2 separate regions of the Homo sapiens genome follow, and region 2 is linked to region 1. The links are contacts of gene promoters, found by promoter capture Hi-C in blood cells and fetal thymus (Javierre and others, 2016). All regions are on one chromosome and are shown on one strand. Each heading gives the region's core, a stretch centred on a gene start or on the middle of the fragment in contact. The rest is flanking DNA. Distances are from core to core; before and after follow the strand shown. Region 1 holds the start of DGKD (diacylglycerol kinase delta). Region 2 overlaps ATG16L1 (autophagy related 16 like 1).

Evidence for each region. The method cuts DNA at HindIII sites, captures the fragments that hold promoters and counts their contacts. A CHiCAGO score of 5 or more calls a contact.
Region 2: a contact is called between a fragment that was not itself captured here and the fragment with the promoter of DGKD in region 1, in 1 of 17 cell types (total B cells). The highest score is 6.8, in total B cells.

Annotation. Positions count from the first base shown.
Region 1 is chr2:233,350,661-233,355,934 of GRCh38, reverse strand. It overlaps DGKD (diacylglycerol kinase delta), which reads right to left and starts at 1,441. Exons shown (of 30, transcript NM_152879.3): 1 at 1,261-1,441. The coding sequence starts at 1,416. RefSeq lists a silencer at 1,252-1,491 and enhancers at 1,742-1,791, 1,932-1,991. The HindIII fragment of the contact is 8,442 bases long and covers 1-5,274 here.
Region 2 is chr2:233,267,557-233,272,475 of GRCh38, reverse strand. ATG16L1 (autophagy related 16 like 1) reads right to left here. Exons shown (of 18, transcript NM_030803.7): 6 at 2,409-2,474. Among named protein-coding and RNA genes, the nearest start is that of ATG16L1, 18 kb to the right of the region's middle. The HindIII fragment of the contact is 347 bases long and covers 1,680-2,026 here.

The DNA.
Region 1 (5,274 bases), core at 192-2,691:
TGGGCAAGTCATTTAACCTTGATTCTATTTCTATTCCAATTCCAAAAGACGGAGATGATAGCATCCAACTTATTGGGTTCTCACCAGTACTAATAAACTAACCATGTCAAGTGCTGTAAAGCTAACCCAAGAAAGTGCCTGGCACATAGAAGGCTTATTAAAGAATTGTTATTTGCTATTGCTATCATTATCATCACTACTGCTACTGTTATACCCGGAACAAAGCAGGTGTTCGGTACCTATTTGCTGAATAACTGGAGCACTTCACAACAAACCTGTTTGTAACATGTTAGGACCTCAGGTTCCCCCATCGCAGGTATCAAAGGCTGACAGAAGAGAAGGCTCCCACGGTGAAGGGAACGGCTGAACCTAATCCGCCCCGGAGGAAAAGCGCACTGCAGCAGGAGGAGAAAGTCCGTGCCAACCGGATCTGCCAGAGCTGCCCCAGGGACCCAGCCTGCTCGCAGCCACCTGTCCAGCCACCTGCCTGAGGAAGCAGTGTTCTAACCGGGCGGGCTCACCTGGAGCAAAAACCGTAAGCTGTTTTCAATAGGAAGCACAATGGGAAAACAAACGGTGCAACTTTCCTCCTGCAAAAAGGACGTGCGTCTTTATCTAACATTTAGCGTCAGGAGTTCTCCGTGGAGAGTTGGGTGCCAAGCGGGTGCGCGGTCCCGGCTTTGCTGAGAGAGACGGTCACTGAACGCGCATCCCTTCCTTCCCTTTTGGGATGAAGGGGTGAAGGGGTGATCCCTCGCACCCGGGTCCGAGCGGACTTCTGAGGGCACCACAGGGAAGTCTGCAGGGCACTCGCGGGACACCACCCGACCGCTCCTGAGAAACGTGCAGAACCGGGGTTTGGGGACCGCGGACGCCCGCGGGGCGCAGCCGGGAGCCCCCGCGTGGGACCCGCTCGGTGGCACGAGCGCAGTCCCCTGCATCTAGGCCTCAGTTTCCTCCGGGTCCTCGCGGCCCAACTCGGCGCGCGCCCCCCGCCCAGCGCGCGGCGCCCGGGGCGCCCACCTGCGCGCCCCCCGCCCGGCCCCACAGCCGCCCGCCGTCCGTCGGGGGCCGCGCGCTCCGCCCGGGGCGCCGGCCCGTTACAGCGGCGGGGCACGCTCGACAGGGGCGGTGACGCCCGCGGGACCCCGGGCCGGGCCGAGCCGGGCCTGGGCGGCCGCTCGGGCAGGGCCACGGGCCTCGGCCGGGGCTGCCGCGGCGTGAGGGGCGCGCGCCCGGGCCGCCGCGCCGCGGGCTCACCTTCTGTCGGATCTGACCCGACGTGGACACCTTGCGGATGAGCTTCTGTGGGGAGCCGGGCTCCGCCTCGGGCTCGCTGTCGGACGACTCCTCGGGCGGCGGCGGCGGAGGCGGTTGCGGGGGACCCGGCGGAGGGGCGCCCGCCGCCGCCGCCATGCTGCCGGGCCAGCGCGCGCACCGCGGGCGGGGGCGGGGCGGGGCCGGCGGGAGGGGCGGGGCCGAGGGCGGGCCGGGCCGGGGGCGGTGGGGGCGGCCTCCCGCCTCTCCCCGCCGCGCCCCCTGCCGGCCATGCGCGCAGCTGCAGACGGCGCCGCGCGGCCCCTCCCCGCCCCCACCTGAAGCGTCCCGGGCCCCCCGCCCACCTCTCCGGGCCGTGGCTTCTGTGTGTTATTTCTGGAACGCCGTTTGTGTTCTTGTTTCTATATTCACTTCTTAAAACATCTCTACTCTTCCGCATCAGAATGTAGGTAACCTCAGGCAGGCTGGGGCTGTGTCTGTCCTGCCCAGCCTTGTGTGGCCGAGTTTGGGGCGAGCTCGAATGCGCGCGCGCGTGCTGGAAAGAGACCCCGGTACTGGGACGGGCCTCGGGACGCCAGAGCTGGGATGCACCGCTCCATCTGGGAAGGCTTCCTGGAGAAAACGGTTCTTAAGGAGAGATGGAAAATGTGAGCAGGAGTTGTGACTAGAGAGGGAACCATGTTCTAGGCAGAGACCAGATTTGTGCAAAGGCCTGGAGGCAAGAAAGAACGAGTGTTGGGCGAAGACGGGGGAAGAAAGGGAAGCTGGTGCTTAGAGCAAGGAAAATGGCATTAAGATATGAGCCTCGGGGCGGGCAGGTCGAAGCGGGCTTTGGAAACCAGATAAGGGGATGGAAGGCAGCAGGAAGCCCTTGAGGGATTTAACCCTGGGCGGGGCTGGGTCACCACGCTGGGGCCTGTGATCCGGGCTTTGAAGTTATCAGGGCAGGTGGACGCCCTGGATTACCGAGGGGCTGAGAGATAGAGACGTGGACTGAGATCCAGGTGGGGAGTGACCAGCGACTGGAGGGAGACAGAGGTGACCAGAACGAGTCCCATGTTTCCCAGGGGGGCTGCTGGATGGTGGGCGGGTGGGGTCCAGCGCTGCTCTGGGCAGAAGAGGAGGAAGCGAAGCTGGAGATGAGATCAGCTAAGTTTTTGGTGCCATCCAGGTGGAGCAGGGCTTGGTGCCACCCAGAGGAAATGCTGTCCATCTGTCTGCCCTGCTCTGAGGGGCAAATCAGTAAGGGACTGCCCAGGTGTGCCCTCTCCCTGTCAAAGGGCTGCCGCTAGAGACCTCGCCTGCCAATAGGCATTCGCTGGCCGCGCCGCCCTGGGCAGTGACCTGGGGCTGCAGAGTGGCATCTGGCATGGGGACACGGCCAGGGGCATGGGCTCACGGCCAGGACAGAGGAGGACAAGGCCTAAGGCAGGAACAGTCCGGGACAGGCCGAAGGCCCCATGGTGCCCCAGGGTACTATAGCCACTAGCCACATGTGGCTACTTAAATTTCAATTAGTTAGAATTCAGCATTCCGTTCCTCAGCCACAGGAGCCACATTTCAGGGACTCAGTAGCCGCATGTGGCTTAGCAGCTGCCACGCTGGATAGCACAAATATAAAACACTTCCCCCGTCCCCCCAGAAAGTTCTGCAGCACAGTCGCATGCTGAACTGTGTCCTCCCGTAATTCATATGTTGAAGTCCTAACCCCCAGTACCTCAGCATGTGACTGCATTTGGAGTTAAGGTTTTTAAAAAGGTAATGAAGTTAAAATGAGGTCACAGGGGTGATCCCTAATCCGGTATGACTGGCGTCCTCATAAAAAGAGGAGATGAGGACACAGACACACACAGAGGGCAGCCCATGTGAAGACACAGGGAGAAGATGGCATCTACAAGCCAAGGAGAAAGGCCTCCGATGGAACTCCCCCTGCCGACACCGTGATCTCGCACTTCCAGCCACCAGAACCGAGAGCGTCAATTCCTGTGGTGGAAGCCGCCCGGCCTATGGTGCAGTGCTCTGGCAGCCCTAGGGAACTCATGCAGGCACAAAGGGCTCCAGCCTCCCCACAGGGTTGGGACTTTTCTATCAATTAACTACATGTGGAGTGATACACAGAGGCAAAACCCTGGAGGAGTGTGCAAGGCGGAGGAGGGGCGGGGACGCACAGGGGAAGAAACAGTTCATTCCTTCATTCCGCGGGGGAGCCGGGTGACCTGAGCAGGGTTTGGGATTGGAATGGAGAGGTCAGATATGAAGGGAGTTTCCCAGGAAAACGCAAAAACGGGGAGACTACCCCTACCAGGTGAGCAGAGCGGGTGACGAGGGATTTTGGTGAAGCCGGTAGCAAGGCGGGTGCGGGAGGCAGGGAGGTGAGCAGCGGCGCCAGGATGCAGAGTAGCCTCCCGGCCCTGCTCTGAGGCAAGGACTTCAGTCCCGTGGGCACTGGAGCTGGCAAGGGGGTTTGGGAAAGCAGAGGAACTCATGTGTCTGGGCAGAGAATGATCCATAGGAGAGAAGACTAGAAATAGGGAGGCCATTAAAATGCTGTTGCCGGCCGGGCGCGGTGGCTCACGCCTGTAATCCCAGCACTTTGGGAGGCTGAGGCAGGCGGATCACGAGGTCAGGAGATCGAGACCATCCTGGCTAACACGGTGAAACCACGTCTCTACTAAAAATACAAAAAATTAGCCTGGCGTGGTGGCGGGCGCTTGTAGTTCCAGCTACTCGGGAGGCTGAGGCAGGAGAATCACTTGAACCCCGGAGACAGAGGTTGCAGTGAGCCGAGATTGTGTCACTGCACTCCAGCCTGGGCAACAGAGCGAGACTCCGTCTCAAAAATAATAATAATAATAATAATAATAATAAATGCTGTTGCCTACACCTGTTAGGAGCTCAGGGGACATCCAGGCCCCAGAACTCATCATTTTAGAGTCAAGGAGGCAAGGGCATGAACGTGACGGTTAAGAAGCAGAAACCGTGGCTGGAGAGGAGGAAATCTGCAATTACCAGAAAGTACTGAGATTGTCACAGACAAGAGGAGCCAAGGAGACATGATGACTAAACGTCACGTGGGTTCCTAGATGGGATCCCAGAACAGAAAAAGGACATTAGGTAAAAGCTGAGGACATCAGAATTAAGTATGGGGCTTTAGTTTAATAATAATGCATCAATATTGATTCCCGGGTAGGAGGAGGGTGAGGATTGAAGAACTACCTATCGGGGATTATTGTGCTGATTACTTGGGTGACAAAAGTATCTATCTGTACACCAAACCGCCATGACATGCAATTTACCCATGTAAAAAACCTGCACATGTACCCCCTGGACCTAAAATAAAAGTTGGAAAGAAATAAGTATATTTTACTGGAAACAACATTTGAGTCACTCAGTGTGGCAAATGTACCCTACTCATGTAAGGGTTAATAATAGGGGGTTTTGGGTGTGGGGGACCTCAGTATAACATCTTTGCAACTTTTCTGTAGATCTAAAACTACTCAAAATAAAAAGTGTATTTTAAAAAAAGAGGATTAGGCTTGGTAAGAATTATATTCTTAAAGCAAAGAAAACTGGCATAAATGTTCTTTGATGATGAAGCAGCTTTTTTGTTCTCCTGGTGAGCGCACAGCGCTGTTCCCCTGGAGATCTCAGGAAGGGCTGAGACATCAACTCCCCCAAAGCGGTGGCCTGGAAGAGCACATTCCCTCCGGTGCCTCTTTATTGAATGAGTCACACTATGAATCATCTCTAACGACAGCCTGCTCCCTGAGTCTACCCCACCTTGAGGGCATATCAAGATGGCAGTAATAACACACTTCACGTCCAACCTAATTCTTCTTTGTGACACGTCAGTGAAGAGGCGCAACTCCTGTCAGAAAGAACCACTTCACATTGGAGAATATAAAAGGGAAACTTGAAAACATGGGAATCATCCAATTTTTACCCTGAACTAGGGTCATGATTGTCATTTGGAGCAGCACATTTCTCCACTGCATG
Region 2 (4,919 bases), core at 604-3,103, 84 kb after region 1:
GCTAAATGGGCCATGAAATCAACAGCCAACTTAACCCAGTTTCAAATATTACTTTAAAAAATAGAAAAGCAAAATTTAAACACTATGCATTTTTGACTCTGCGCATTTTATGCTTAAATACATAGTGTCTCTGACATTAGGAGAGCCCATCACACTTCAAATGACATAATCAAGTCATAGGACATGCTCCCTTTGTTGCTGTTTATCCCAGCGGATGCAAAGTACCTCTGGAATCCCCCTTCCTCATTTTTCTGGGCCACGTCTTTCCTACTTGGAGGAGGGCAAGTAATTATTTTGGTCTTAATGACCTCCTACTGAGATGCAACCTTCATGGAGAAGATAATTAAATGTAATAACCCAAGATTTCATCACCTACTGTTTGGATTCATAAGAACTTGACAGAAAGATTTTTCCTTTTCAATAAATAATTATCTGGATTAGGTAAATATATACTTAAGAACCTGTTACTAAGCAAGTTAAACCTGGTCAAAGTAAATTTATTTTCCTTAGCTATTTATTCCAGGACTATGTGTAATTATTGCACCACATTCTTGGCCAGGATGTAGAAGGGAATAAAAGGCAGGTCGAAAGAAAAAGGACAAGGCTGTGCTTTATTTTCTTGATTGGCTTTCCCAGGGATCTAGGTTTGCGAGAGTCACCTGTGCCCATACAAGGAAGAGAGGAGAACTGCAAAGACAGGAACTGCAAATATGAGCTGAGCCTTTGACAATGTCCTGTTGAAAATAGAATTTTATGGTTTTAAGTACTTGCAACTGTGCTTAGGCCCGGGACCACAAGAAAACACTAGCATTTGCTAAGTTATCAAAACCTTTCAAAGATGTATGTCCTCTGACCCAGAAACTCCTTAGGGAAGCATAGAGATTAAGGAGAGGCCTTAGGCCGGGCTCGGTGGCTCATGCCTGTAATTTCAGCACTTTGGGAGGCCAAGGCGGGCAGATCACCTGAAGTCAGGAGTTCGAGACCAGCCTGACCAACATGGAGAAACCCCATCTCTACTAAAAATACAAAATTAGCTGGGCGTGGTGGCGCATGCCTGTAATCCCAGCTACTTGGGAGGCTGAGGCAGGAGAGTCGCTTAAACCTGGGAGGCGGAGGTTGCAGTGAGCTGAGATTGCACCATTGCACTCCAGCCTGGGCCACAAGAGTGAAACTCCATCTCAAAATAAAATAAAATACAAAATAAAATAACAGGCTTTTACAGCCCTGTGTTTGCATCCTACCTCGGCCCCTTCCTGTATGATCTTGGGCAGGATGCTCAACCTGTCTAAATTATCCCAGTCAACCCGGTTATGCAAATGACACTTTTATAAGCTGTTATTCTGAAGAAACCAAATCTCATTTCCAGGTCAACTATTTATTTACTTTGTGGCTTGGGAAAATACAACTGAGATTAATCTTCCACATCTGAGAGTGCAGACACACACGTACCCTACATATCTAAAGCAAAGGCATGATATGGGAACCTTTGTTTCTTTGTAAATTAAGACGTTAGTTGGTGAATGACTCCTAGTTGAATTTAAACCCCTCCACTTACAGGGAAGCAACCAACATTTTAAAAAATAGTGGATCAAAACTCTAAAACTATATTCCAAAACACATTTCAATAGAAAAGAAACATCCTAGAGCGAAGGAAACTCTTTTCTACCACTATGAAAGCTTCAAATCTCAGAGAAGATACCCCACCTTAACTTGTAGGCAGATTAGGAAAAGCTCCAGAACTAGTTTGATTCCTTTTGTTCCAAGAGATCTTAGTTTTCGCTTAAGTTTCCACTTTAAGTTACAAACCAAAGGGAGCAAGGAGGGAAAAAACAAACAAAACAACAACAACAAAAACCCCACCGCATTACATGGCAGGCACAATTAAGAGGCAGAAAACTGATCGTTCAAAGTGTCAACAGGAAACAGTGAGGCAGTAACGGGTACTGAGTGCAGGAAGTTAGAATTCACATTCACAGCTGATGAACACAAACTTTTTGGAAGGTTATTTGGTGATGTTCCAAAAGCTTTGACCCATCAAATTTTATTTTCAATAATCTATCTCAAGTAAGTAATCAGAAATAGGGTCAAAGGCCGTATCAGTACATGATTTGTGAGAAATTAGAAGCCAGCAAAATACAATTAAAATGATATATGGATGTTAGTTCTGAGTGGTGGAAGAACTGTATGTTTTCATTTTCTTCCTTTAACATTTTTCTTTCTAAAATCTGTAAGATGATTTTACAGAAATAAAAACATTAGAAGCTATGATCACACCACTGCACTCCAGCCTGGGCAACAGAGCAAGACCCTGTCTCAAAAAAAACCAAACAAAAAAAAAAATAAAAACAAAACTTTTAAGAGAGCCAAATTTTCAGAAACACAGTTTTGATTCATTTATCTTTACTTACTGTTCGACTGGTAGAGGTTCCTTTGCTGCTTCTGCAAGCTCTTTCTGCAGCCGGGCTTGCCGCCTCCTGTTGGGAAAAAAAAAAAAAAAGCCCACCATTTATGTCTGCTTAAGAAAGCACGGGGTTTGGGCTCTCTAGAAGCCACCAGTTCTAATAACACATTCAGTGCATGTAAAATAACAACTACCCTGAGCAAAATACTCAAAAGTCACAAGCCCAAACTCATAACATCAGTAAGGCTCCCCTTTTAAAGGGTTTCAGAGTAAAGCCTAGAAGAGAGATAGGCCACATTATTAGAGAAAGCAGTGAACTGGCAAAGGAGGAGGCCTGCCTTCTGGGACCAAGGGTATCTTAGGATAGACACATGCCTCAGGCTCACTGAGGGTTAGTCATGGTTGTGACTTAAGTTTTCTGCAGCAAATAGTCTTACACGGGTTGAGCATCCATTACTCGAAATGTTTGGGACTACCAGTGTTTCAGATTTCGAATTTTCTCAGATTTTGAAGTTTTGCATAAACATGATATAAATCTTGAGGACAGGATCCAGGTCTAAATATGAAATTCAGTTGAAATTAATGGTAAATCGGAAATCTGAAGTGCTCCAATGAGTACTTCCTTTGAGTGTCATGTTGGCACTCAAGAAGTTTCAGATTCTGGAGCATTGTGGAGTTTGGGATATGGGATGCTCAACCTGCATTAACACACCCACAGCCTGATTACTAACAGTGAAGATTTACTTAGGACTTCCCCTTACCTGACATTGTTAATTACTTTACAGACTTTAACTCATTTAAGCCTTATAACAACCTTTTGAGGTAAATATCATTATTGCCATTTATAAATGAGGAAACTGAGGTATAGTGAGATTCTTGAAATGTCAAAGTTTACATAACATTAGTAACTTTAATTTACTAAAGCTTGACATAGAAGTCTTGGCTGTGACAAATTTTTAACATGGTCAAAGTCTCATCCACTAACTCCCCTTCTCAGAATCATTTTTGTCTCTCATTCAAGTCCTAAATTCAGAAACTCCCTAACTCCTAACCCTGACCTTACTCTCTCTTCTTTGATAAATTTCACTTCTAACTATGGCTATGCCTGCTAGGTGGAGGACCCCTAATGTAGAACTCTAGCAATGCTACTGAGCTGCAATCAAGAATTCTGCTGAAATTTCTCGTAAGTTTTTACCACGGTGGTAATTCTCAAAATGAAGGAAAGTCCTCTAGGCAGTATAGCAGAATCTTGGGAAGGGATGTGGGTATAGCTTAAAAAGTGCATTACACTCTTGATTTTATACCTGGAAGATGAAAAATAAGTTTTACAGGGCAAATTACCAAAAATACAATTTATCCAAATTGTCTTAGCTGGTAGAGACAACTGTGAACTAACTCTCTTTGAGGAAAAACCAGAATCTCGGTATAAGGTGTGTGAGTACCACTACTCTATGATTAAAGCACTTGTTGACTGTCTGAAATCTACTTTCTATAACTTCAGGTCCCAGTTCTGCAAGGTGGAGATAAAAACTTGACTTAGGGTCACAGGGAGAGGAAAACACCACCTGTTATCAGGGATTCATCACTATAGCTGAAAGGAAAGGTCTTTAATAGCTCAAACAGAGTCTCTCTCTGTCACCCAGGCTGGAGGGCAGTGACATCATCTCGGCTCACTGCAATCTCCGCTTCCTGTGTTCAAGCGATTCTCCTGTCTCAGCCTCCTGAGTAGCCGGGATTACAGCCACCTGCCACTACATCCAGCTAATTTTTGTGTTTTTAGTAGTAGAGACAGGGTTTTGCCATGTTGGCCAGGCTGATCTTGAACTCCTGACCTCAGGTGATCCACCTGCCTTGGCCTCCCAAAGTGCTGGGATTACAGGCAGCAGCCACCGTGCCCAGCCCTGAGTGCATCTTATGAAGCAGCCACTGTGCCTGACCACAGGGACACGTGGCAGCATAAGGGAAGGAGGCAGAGTGTGAAGAGCTATCTCAAAACAGTGTGCTACATATGGCCCAGGTAAACCACAGCTGCCTGAAGCAGGAAGATGAGGGACATCTAAGCTGGGGAGGCAGGAAGTGGGTAATGACGCAGGAAGGCTTCTAGGAGGAGAGGCTACCTAAGCAAAGTAATGAAGACTCCTCAGGTCCCACATCTGCAATCACATGATACCTCCAAGTGCACAGCCCTAGGAAGATGCTTCAAAGGGTGGGCTAGGGAATGAGGACAGCATTTTCACTAGGAAATGTGCATTACCCCCCGTCCACTGCACTGCTCAGGGGCTCTTCCTTGGCATCACCACACATCTCCCCAACTTCTCCCTCCAGCAGCCTCTCAGCTGACGTGAACATGCAACCTAGCAGCATCCAGCTCACCTGGGGCCCCCAACACCCTCACACTGCTGTCAAGCTCCATGGCATAAGCCAAACAATTCTGCTTAAAGTAAATGTGAGACAGAAACAATACAAAAAGGACAGCTTATTTTTTCTTAATAGAAACCGGAAAATTAGAAAATACAGG